Linked DNA regions of Homo sapiens: region 2 is linked to region 1. The links are contacts of gene promoters, found by promoter capture Hi-C in human tissues and cell types (Jung and others, 2019). All regions are on one chromosome and are shown on one strand. Each heading gives the region's core, a stretch centred on a gene start or on the middle of the fragment in contact. The rest is flanking DNA. Distances are from core to core; before and after follow the strand shown.

Region 1 (5,461 bases), core at 1,964-4,463:
AAACTGTCACCTCACCCCTTCCATGACAATTCACACCTACCTTCCCTATCATATTTTTTATTTCTGTTTATCACTAACACACTTGCTATTTCAATCTTGTTTATTGTCACTTCTGCTAAAGTCAGCTCCACTGGGTCAATAATTATTGTATATTTTCTTCACTGCTGTGTCTTCTGCATCTGGCATTCATACATAGTAGGTGCTAACTCCTTAACTATTAAATGAATGAATAGAGTACTTTAAAATAGAACTAAGGGGCATGAGTACTGGGAGGAAAAGGTGATCCGTCCATTCAGCAGAAGAAAGGAGAGATGAGAAAAGACGGTGTGGGAATCTGGCCAGAGGTGAGTTGTGGGGCCCAGATGAGCTTGACAAGAGGAAATGAGGATCTGCCAGGTCCGCTGGGGGCTCCAGTAGCCCCTTCCTCCTGGCAGTTGTGATTTCCAGCTGCCAGGGCCCCCGCTGGAGGGCTTCTGCTGAGGAGGGAGGATGGAGTAGGGCGGGTTTGCAGCCACGGAACAAAGGCCTGTGGACTTGCAGCTGGCCAGAGAGGCGGGACAGAGCAGTGGCCTGGGCCAGAGGGGCGGCCTGAGATGGGGGAGGGGGCACAGATGAGGAGCTGAAGACAGCCCTCAGTGCAGCTGCAAAAGCAACACCCTCCCAGAGTCCCTGCAACCCCCAACACAACAGAGAATAGCCAGAGGGCTTCACTTTTAACCCTCCAAGGCCAGGGCGGCCTGGGCTTGTGGCAGCACCCCTGGCTTACAGCTGGAGCCTTCACAAGGTTCTGGGAGCTGGGAGAAGAGAACGGGCAAGGCATACCTCTGCAACAGAGGAGCCTTCCCCCTCCAGCCCTGGTCATCCCGCAGGCCGTGGCCTTTGGCCTCTTCCAGCGTAAACAGTGACCGTGGGATAGCTGCGGATTTGGTAAGGCAAATGTTTACTCTGGGGCTGAGATATTAAGACCAGGGTGTTTTAAACATCCAACAATGGCTCCTGGTATCTAACGTCTCCTTGTGGCACACACGTGGGACATAGCCAGCAAATTGTAAAACCCTTGGGAGACTCCCTCCCGAGCCACTGTGAGCCCTTTAGTTTTAACAGGAGTTTATGGAGCACTTTCCACAAATGAGGCTTCCTTTGATCCTCACCACAGCTCCTATGAGGAAGAGCAGGCAAGTAATCCCACTTTATTTATGTGGAAACTGAGTCAGAAAAGATAAGTGAATTGGCCAGATCATGTTGGAGAAAACACAGATCAGACAATGAGGACATCTGACCTCTGGTTTCTACTTGGCCAATAGGGTCTAAGGCTGAAATCACCTCACCCCTCTGGGCTCTGCTGCCTTCACGAGTAAATGAAGTAGGCTAATCCAAGGGGCCCCCCAGCCCAAGTGACTCGCACTCTTCAACTCTACCAATCTTCCATGCTATGCAGAAGAGCCAGGTCTAAAACTCAGGCATAAACCCGTGCTGGACTATCAGGCCAGTGCTCTTTCCACTTCCCCTGCCATGCCACTTCTAATAAAAGGCAGTAGAAAAGCCCCCAAAGCAGCTCTTCAACAAATCACTCCCTCAGCAGCTAGGACTTGGCCTCTGGGTACCTCTTCCCCCAACTTCCTGCCCCATCCCCAGGGCAAGTTACCCAGGGAGCTAATGGGTTGTCCTATCTTCCAGGAAGGGAGTGGAGGACAGCAGGTGTCGAAAGGAGAAGTGAGGCCATTGCATCCAGGGGGCCAGCCCGGAACCACAGGGGAGAGATGTATAACAGAGAGATAAATGTACACTTTTGGTTCTCACTCCCTAGTTTCCTCCTGGGGAACAGCTGGGGTTTAATCACTCAGGATCCCATCCTTGTCCAACAAAGGATGGCCCGGAAAACCACACTGCTGAAGGCGAGGTGGCCGATGTGCTCAACGGGGAGGCCCTCCCCCGCTCCGGACTGTCATTGCCCTCCCTGCTTATTATTTCTTGAGCAAGGGCCATGTGACTGGGCTGCGTGCAGAGGCACGGCTGGGGAGACTCTGGGAACCCCCACTCCAGGGTTCCCCGTAAGGTGAACGCAGTGTGGGTCTCCTGCTGGGGCCCCCAGAGCAGGGGACAGGCACCTACATATGCCAACAGATTAGCGAGTGACCTCGAGGATCAAACTCTTTCGCGGCCTCTAACAACACCCTCCCCAAAAGCCACACCTCTCCAGCCTCCAACCATTCCATTCTCCCCTCCGTTCTTCCTTTTGTGTTCCAAAGGCGCCCCGAAGAGTCAAAGTAGCTATTTAACGCCTTAAAAATTTAAGCTTGCACGCCTTATACTGGCTTTCCAAACCAAAGGGCTGGGTGTAGGGGTGCGAAGAACCAAACCGACTTCAGGAGTGGACGAGGTCGAGGCAGCTGGTGGCCGGGCTTTCCGCTCCCCGCTTCTGGCCCCCACTCTCCTCCCTGCCGGACAGGTAGCCGAGATTCCCAACAGCGAGCACCGTGCGGCGCCAACCCGGAACAGGCTGCAGGCGCCTCCGGGGCTGGCAGGAGCCGAGGCTCGGGTCCTCGCGCAGAAGGGTCCACCCGCCAGGCCCACAGCTCCAGCCAAACACCAGCCCTCGGGCGCGCGCGGCCTCGCGGGCTTCCTGGATTTCAAACTGAGCCTCTCTGGAGCCGCCCGGCGCATTTGCCCCTTTTGTTTCCGGAGTGGAGGGAAAAAAAGACAGAAAAAGTCTCCCCATACGACCCTCCTGCGCTCGCGCACTCTGCGGCAGGGTGGCCCGGGAAGCAGCCAACACAGTTCCAGGCCCTCCTCGGTCGCCCCGGTCCTCACCCCGCAGGGGGCTGGCACGGGGGCCGCGAAGGGACTGGGGCCCCAGCGTGACTGCCGGCACCGCCGCTCAGCCTAATGCAGGGAGATAAGAGGGGAGAGAGGAGAATCAGGGGACACTCACCGAGCGGTAGCTGCCCCGCGGGCTCGGGACGCGCACGGCGTGCGGGGCTGCCCAGGTGCTGCCGCGACGCGGGCGCGAGTTTGAAAGTCGCTCTCTGAAGGGGCTGAGGCCGCCGACCGCTCCCGCCCACCGCCAGCCCCTCAGCTGGCCCGGACTCGGCCAGCTGCAAGCGCGGCCCCCGGAGACCCCAGGCAGCGCGCGGCTTGCCAGCGCCCGGCAGGAAGTCGAGCGGAGCCGGAGCTGCAGCGGGAGGGCAGGAGGGAGCGAGGGAGCGAGGGAGCGAGGGAGCGAGGGAGCGAGGGAGCGAGGGAGCGAGGGAGGGGCGGGCCAGGAATTTTTCCTGTGGGTGGAGACTCCAGCTCGCGGCTGCAGTCCAGCAATTGGCGGCTCTGCGGGGGCCGGGGCAACCTTCGCGGCGCGGCGAGCCAGAGCCGGGGTAAGGCTGCGGCGGCGGCGAGGCCTGGGCGCGGTTAACGATTAACGCCCGCAGGGTGATGAGCGCGCACCCCCGGGCAGCCTAGATGCTCTAGGATACCAAGACGCACGTGGTGGGGTCACCCTGGTGTCACAGACCTGCTATCACCGCCTCCCGAGACAGCATGGACTGCCAGAACGTACCCCTTGTATGGACAGGGAACACCGGGCCCTGCGAAGGGGGCTGAGGGCTTTCCCAAGTGAGTGACCAGCCGGGATCGATCTGGGGATCCTAATCCTACCAGAGCCGGCCGTGTCCGCTTTTCCAAGTCAGAAAGGCATGTCTTGAATTCCTCACCATAACTCGGTCCCTGTGACGCTTTACAGTGGTAAATGCAGACCTCTGAGAAGCTGACGGGAAAGAGATAAAGGAGACAACGTGAAGGCAACTCCACAAGGAACTGTTAAATAGGAAAAATAAAACACAGAAACCTGGATGATAGAGGACCCGTTTTTATAAAACAAAGAGAACCGTTTGTCTTTATGTCTCTGTATATGACCGTGTATGCATGGAAAGGTACACACCTGGAAACTGGGGGGCAAGGGGTGAGGATGGGGGACAGAGACATTCAATACATTTTGAGCAAGAGCATAAATCCAAAAACCCATAATAATTCATCAGTAAAGATCCTGAAGAACAACAAGCCCGGAGGAGGGAAGCCCAGAGTGGGGCTCCGGAAGAGGAACAACGCCCACTGGTTAGGCGCTATCACTAGTTCCTTGGGAGGAGGAATAGGACGCTGATATTAGAACCACGGGGTATATTTGTTATCCAGGTGTACAGCAAACGATTTCTAGAGGTATCATTTAAAACAAAACAAGCGCCCGCCCCAAAATGCTGCTCTGGGCAAATGCAAGCTCCAGGTGATCTACTGGGAGGGGAGAGGCGGGGCAGGCGCGGAAGGAAATGGCTTTCAGGTGACTTTGAAACTGGATCCTGGCGGAGGGTGGGGTGAAGGCAGCGTCCCGGCTCCTGCCTGCGGAGGAAGCGGTAGGCGCTCGGTCTGGCAGGCCCAGAAAGCGGGGCCCACATTCCTTAGGGAGGGAGGGTGTGTTGGAGGCTTGCAGAGCCCCAGACTCGCGGACCGTGAAGGTGAGAGCAGAGATTGCAGAAGAGGGGCTCGGAAATAGATCAACTTAGTTGGGGCTCCGCTAGACCCCGCCGGCCAGGGGAGAAGTGACAAGTCCCCCTTCTGGCCTTCCAGGACTTGTGGTCACCCCTTCCAACCTCAGGCTTTCACCTTTTTTTGTTTATGCTTTCTTATCTGATCACCTGAATCTTACGAATGCCTTCCGGTCCGCTTCAAATTCCAGCTTCCAAAGAAGCCCCCTGACTTAGCCACTTGTGAGCGACCCTTCACTCCTTAGCCAGGACACGTTACAGTGTTAGTGGCAGTCATAACTGTCCTTTAGTGAATGCTTACCATGCAGAGGGCCTGTGCTACACTCTTAACAAACTGTGTCCCTGGATCCTCACAGCCACCTTGCGAGGTAGGAGATATCCTAATCCCCATCTTGCAGACAGAACACTGAGGCTTAGGGGCAAGGAGCAACTTGGCAAAGATTACACAACCAGCAAAAGCAGTGTCGGGCAAGTGCCTAGATGGGTGTGTGCTTACTATGAGTGTGCTTACTATGTATTAGCCATTCTTCTAAGTACTTTACAAAAACAATTGCAGTAACAGAAAAGGAAACTGAGGCAAAGTCACACAGCTAGTGGGTGGTAGACCTGGAAGTCATAACAGGGAATTCTGCCCTTCACCATCACTGCTTCCAGTTTCTTTCTGACACTTGTTATGCCCAATTCACTTGATTATAATATATTGTTTCTATTAATAATTGTTTTAATTTATATCACCTACTTCCTAAAAAGATTGTAATCTCCCTGTGGTAGAAGTCATATAGGAAGCACTCAGTAAAACAATGCTGAATTCAACTGAAACAATCTAAAGAGTTTGTGAGAAATCGCACAGTCTCTCCTCCGATAATAAAACCCTGTGTCAAGGGCCAGGGGCTCCAGGCTGCAGCCCCTCCACAGCTCGGAGCCTCTTCCTA
Region 2 (5,461 bases), core at 1,989-4,488, 300 kb after region 1:
TCTGAAGAATGAGTCCCTCACTTCAACCCATTCATCATTCACTTGTTAATTGCCACCACTGCACTTCAGCAATGTCATGCTTGCTATTTCTTGAGAAAGGAAATTAAATCTTGGGACCCCAAATTCATTAAGTCAAAGGGAAAAGCCAAGCTGGGAACTGGGTCATGCAAATCTGCCTCCCCCTTTTTGGTTCCTAAATAAGATGTTACAAGATGAAAAGCTACATGCCTCCCCCATATTTTGCCCACAAAGAAATTCGTAGTGAGCTGCAACATCTTTATGATGTTTCTGTTAAAATTTCACCATGGCAATGTAAATCCCCCCAGCCCACCAGACACAAATGTATATCTGATTTTTCCCCTGCCCAATTCTGTCTATGTTATCTTATGTAAAATGCAGATTGCCTGCATTTTTCCTCTGCCCCACTTGTCTATATCGTCTTTTTTTTTTCTGGTTGGAGCTTCACTCTTATTGCCCAGGCTGGAGTGCAATGGCACTATCTTGGCTCACCACAACCTCCGCCTCCCAGGTTCAAGCGATTCTCCTGCCTCAGCCTCCCGAGTAGCTGGGATTACAGGCATGCGCCACCACACCCAGCTAATTTTTTGTATTTTTAGTAGAGATGGGGTTTCTCCATGTTTCTTAGGCTGGTCTAAAACTCCCGACCTCAGGTGATCCGCCCGCCTCGGCCTCCCAAAGTGCTGGGATTACTGGCGTGAGCCACCGCGTCCGGCCATCTGTCATCTTATGTAAAAAATGCAGATTCACTGAGCCAGAGAAGGTCATGAATGACTATTTTTCCCTACCCACCTCTTACATGAAAACGTGTACTTTTCAATAACCCACCCTTTCCTCTTTAAATTTGGAGAACTCGAAATCATCTTCGGAGAAAGGTATAGACCTGTCTCCCAGGTGTGTCCTTAATTTTGGCAAATAAATCTCCTAAAATGATCGAGACTTGTCACTTTCCTCAATTGACATCCTGCTCTTTGGGAAGAAAATCATTAATGAGAAAACAAAAACTCACGGGCAAACCAGAGGCCACAGATCTAACCCACCCATTTCTGACTTACAAAATAGATAAACTAATGTCTCCTGTGGGTGATAAAAGTTTTCACAGGGAGGACCAAAAAGGGCAAGGGGTAATCGATAGGACCCAGGTGGAGGTTGGGGAGGGTGATGGCACAGCTCTTCTGGCGTTACCTCTTCAGCAGCCTTCAGCTTCACATTTATATAAAGATTGGAATCATCTCTGTTGCCAACCTAGAATAATAAATGCATGCAAATCAGATGATTAGGGAAAGGCAAAGTGCACAGAAAAGCTTCTACAATTTTAGTTTTAATAAAAGAAATGTTTAATCATGCGACTCTTGTTGCAGAGAACTTTTACAGGAGTATAGGGAGGCTGTGGGGGCAGGAGGGATTATGTGAACACAGATGGTGTTACAGCCCCTCCCCTAAACAAGGCCCACCTGGTTCCCACTGCCAAACCCCAAACAGAAAGTAGAGGATATCTGCATCTGCACTGGAAACTAAGCAAGGATGCTGCAGGCCTACTAGAAACATGTGGGATTTCTGCTGCCATACCAGAAAAACAGAGTATGGAGGGCTGAGAAACTGTCATCAGGCAAGAAAAATGCCTGAGAGGCAGGAGCACCCAGAGGGCACATTCCACACCCTCTCCCCCACCCGCAGGGGCAATGGAAAGCTCCCTGGCCCCGCCACACAGACAATAGAAAGGAGGGTGGAAGGACCTCCCTCTAGTTTACACAGAATAAACAGCCAGGCAAGACAAAGGGCAATCTGCTGGCCCCAACACAGAGAGGAGGCCGGGTGCAGCAACTCAGGTCTATAATCCCTGCACTTTGGGAGGCCAAGGGAGGAGGATCGTTTGAGCCCAGGAGTTCGAGACCAGCCTGGGCAACATAGTGAGACCCCCCCCCCCATCTTTACAAAAAATTAGCCAGGCATAGTGGTGCCTGCCTGTAGTCCCAGCACTCAGGAGGCCAAGGTGGGAGGATTACTTGAGGTCAAGAGTTTTTCCATGATTGCACCAGTGCACAGTGAGTCATGGTACTATGCCTGGGCAGCCTGGGCAACAGAGAGAGACCTTGTCTCTTAAAAAAAAAAGAGAGAGACAGGGAGAAACTTGTAGTGCAGAGGCTAAATCCTTTGAACCACCATGCAGTGTCTCACTATGTTCCCTCTGTTTCTTTGACCATGAACATATTTATAGTTTATCATTATAACCATTTATTTGTAAAATTTTATTGTACTAATATTGTTTCATGCTCCAGTGGTTGGTATTTCTCCTTCTCAAGGTTGATACATGCTACCATAAGTTGTGTTTCTCCCAGAATTGCAGAGGGTATCACAGAGGGAAAGGTGGTGGTCCCTTCATATCAAAGACAACTGAAGCACAGCTCCTTTTAACAGGACCATGGCAGAGAAAGAAGCCGGCTTTTGTAACACAGGATTTTCTGAGCTTGTCATATTGGTGCTATTACTGGACGCTCTCCTCAGATCTCAGGACATGGCCTGAATCTTAGCTTCAGTTGTCCCTTATACAGACAGTTCTCAGTTTTGTGGTGCTAATTTGAATTGCAAGAGCCAGAAGAGTCCTTTGAGGGGAATTCTACCTTTTTTTTTAATGGGTTATTTGTATCTAAGTACATTAGATGCTTCTCGTAGGGGCTTCCCTAGACTTTTCGTGCCTCTCATGTTTCCTCTTTGGTCACTTTCTATGTATGTTCTTTGCCCCACCACCCAACCCTCACTGGTTCAGTTACCAGATTTGATACATTCCGGAATTTTTAGATCAAAGTAGGAAAGGAGGTGGTTCTAAATACAAAAGTATTATTTTTTTACAATTTCATTCATATTTATACCTACCACTAGTTATTTAGTCTTAACTCTGAGATTAAATTGTTTTATCACTTGCTGCCAGTAAGGAAGCCACAACTTCTCTGTTCTAGAATTTATCTTCATTCATGTTTCAAGTAAGTGAAATGTAACTTATAAGTCAGTTTTCCAGGAAAGGTAGGTGGACATGTTTCTAAGTCTGTATAACTGAAAATATTTTTCTGCTGTCCCTTGCACTTGACTGGCCTTGCCTGATTTGGAGTGACAGCATTTTCCTTCGGAGATGTTGTCTTTGGCATCTAATGTCACACAGGAGAAGTCTGAAGTCTCTCGCTGTTGTTGTTCCTTTACATGTAACTATTTTCGGCCTGAATATTTCTGAAGGAGTTTGTCTAAAACACTAAAACTACAACCAGTTCCAGAAAGAAAACTTAATAGTTATAGTTATGAGCGTATGTCAAAGTTTTATTGGAAAAGACATCTAAAAGCCAATTCAAAGAGTCACTCTTAGTATAGGTTTTATTTATTTATTTATTATTTTTGAGACAGGGTCTTACTCTGCCACCCAGCCTAGAGTACAGTAGCATGATCATGGCTCACTGCAGCCTGCAACTCCTAGGCTCAAGCAATCCTCCCACCTCAGCTTCCCAAGAAGCTAGGACTACCAGTACACGCTGCCACAAACAGCCAATTTTTGTATTTTTTGTAGAAATGGAGTTTCTCTATTGCCCAGGCTGGTCTCAAACACCTGGGCTTAAGCAATCCTCCTGCCTCAGCCTGCCAAAGTGCTAGGTAGGTGTGAGCCACCACACTTGGCCAGTATAGGCATTTTATAGGGGAAAGTGGTTATAGAACCATTGATAGACTAGATGCAAAAAGAATGTTTAAAGAACGTGTATTCTGGCCGGGCATGGTGGCTCACGCCTGTAATCCCAGCACTTTGGGAGGCTAAGGCGGGCAGATCACCTAAGGTCAGGAGTTCGAGACTAGCCTGGCCAAGATGGTGAAACCCCATCTATACTAAAAATACAAATATTAGCCAGTCATGATGGTGTGCACCTGTAATCCCAGCTACTTGGGAAGCTGAGGCAGGAGAATCCCTTGAACCCCGGGGGCAGAAGTTGCAGTGAGCCAAGATCGTGCCATTGCACTCCAGCCTGGGCGACAAGAGTGAAACTCCATCTCAAAAAAAAAAAAAAAAAAAAGAATGCTGATTTCTCCTTGAAGGTGGCTGAGTACTACATCATCCAAAAAAGATCCTATTCCAGAACAGGTTAGGGACACTTTTTTTTTATACCAGGAGTCTGCAAACTTTCTGTAGAGGGGCAGACGGTGTATATTTTAGGCTTTGTGGGACACATACCGTGTCACAGCAGCTGCTGCTATTGCTTTTTTAACTCTTTATAAACTGGGCAGCATTTGGATACGGGCCACAGTTTACTAATCTGTGTTCTACACCGTAAGATATCTTGGGTATTGGTCTACTGGTTCATTTTTCTTTCTGTTTCAGAAAACCTTATGAAGATACAGGCTAGTTGAGTTTATTAACTGTATTCTGTCCATGTATTTTGTGAGGACTGAATGAGTTACTATACATAAAGCACTCTGAATAGTTCCCGAATACTGTTAAAAATCAGTTTTTTGGCCAGGTGCAGTGGCTCATGCCTATACTCCCAGCACTTTGGGAGGTCAAGGTGTGTGGATTGCTTGAGCCCAGGAGTTAAAGACCAGCCTGGGCAACATATCGAAACCCCATCTCTACAAAAAATACAAAAATTATCTGGGCATGGTGGTGTGCCTGTAGTCCCAGCTCATTTGGGAGGCTAAGGTGGGAGGATCCCCTGGGGGACAGGGGAGGGCAGAGGTTTCAGTGAGCAGAGATCACATCACTGCACTCCAGCCTGCATGACAGAACAAGATTCTGACTCAAAAAAAAAAAAAAAAGAGAGAGAGTGAGAGATACTAATGAGGCTATGGGGCTGAGGCTGTATTTCTATCACCTTACCAGAAACTTTTTTTTTTTTTTGAGACAAAGTCTTGCTCTGTCACCCAGGCTGGAGTGCAATGACACGATTACAGCTCACTGCAGCCTCAACCTCCCAGGCGTGAGCAATCCTCCCAGCTCAGCCTCCTCAGTAGTGGGGACTACAGGCAAGCACCACCACAACCAGCTAATTTTTGTATTTTTTTGGAGACAAAGTCTCTCTATATTTCCCAGGCTGGTCTTGAACTCCTGGGCTCAAGCAATCCACTCGCCTTGGCCTCCTAAAGTGGTGGGATTACAGGCGTGAGCCACCATGCCTAGCCCATTAGTATCTCTTATAATGAAAAGTCAAGTCTTAATTTCCTATAAATATTCAGTTATTTGGGAAGTTACTCATCCACTTTATTAAAAAAAAATGAAAACTCAACTTTTAAATATATACTTGGGCCAGATCATGAATGTTCTTGAATGCATTGCTAAGGAATTAGGAAAACAAAGGGGAAGAACAAATGGGTTTTAGAGACAGATCTGGGTTCATTTCCCAGACTCAGTCCCTTCCTGACTGGCTTTGGGCAAGCTACCCAAGATCTTTGAGCATGAGTTACTATGGCTATA

Evidence for each region. Contacts are between HindIII fragments. The study calls those that stand out against the background at their distance.
Region 2: a contact is called between a fragment that was not itself captured here and the fragment with the promoter of PLEKHG3 in region 1, in 2 of the 25 tissues and cell types used here (aorta and thymus).

The regions. Positions count from the first base shown.
Region 1 is chr14:64,702,176-64,707,636 of GRCh38, reverse strand. PLEKHG3 (pleckstrin homology and RhoGEF domain containing G3) reads right to left here and starts at 3,213. Exons shown (of 17, transcript NM_001308147.2): 1 at 2,933-3,213. RefSeq lists an enhancer at 4,433-4,934. The HindIII fragment of the contact is 6,175 bases long and covers 942-5,461 here.
Region 2 is chr14:64,406,892-64,412,352 of GRCh38, reverse strand. MTHFD1 (methylenetetrahydrofolate dehydrogenase, cyclohydrolase and formyltetrahydrofolate synthetase 1) reads right to left here. Exons shown (of 28, transcript NM_005956.4): 3 at 1,204-1,263. Among named protein-coding and RNA genes, the nearest start is that of MTHFD1, 21 kb to the right of the region's middle. The HindIII fragment of the contact is 9,503 bases long and covers 1-5,461 here.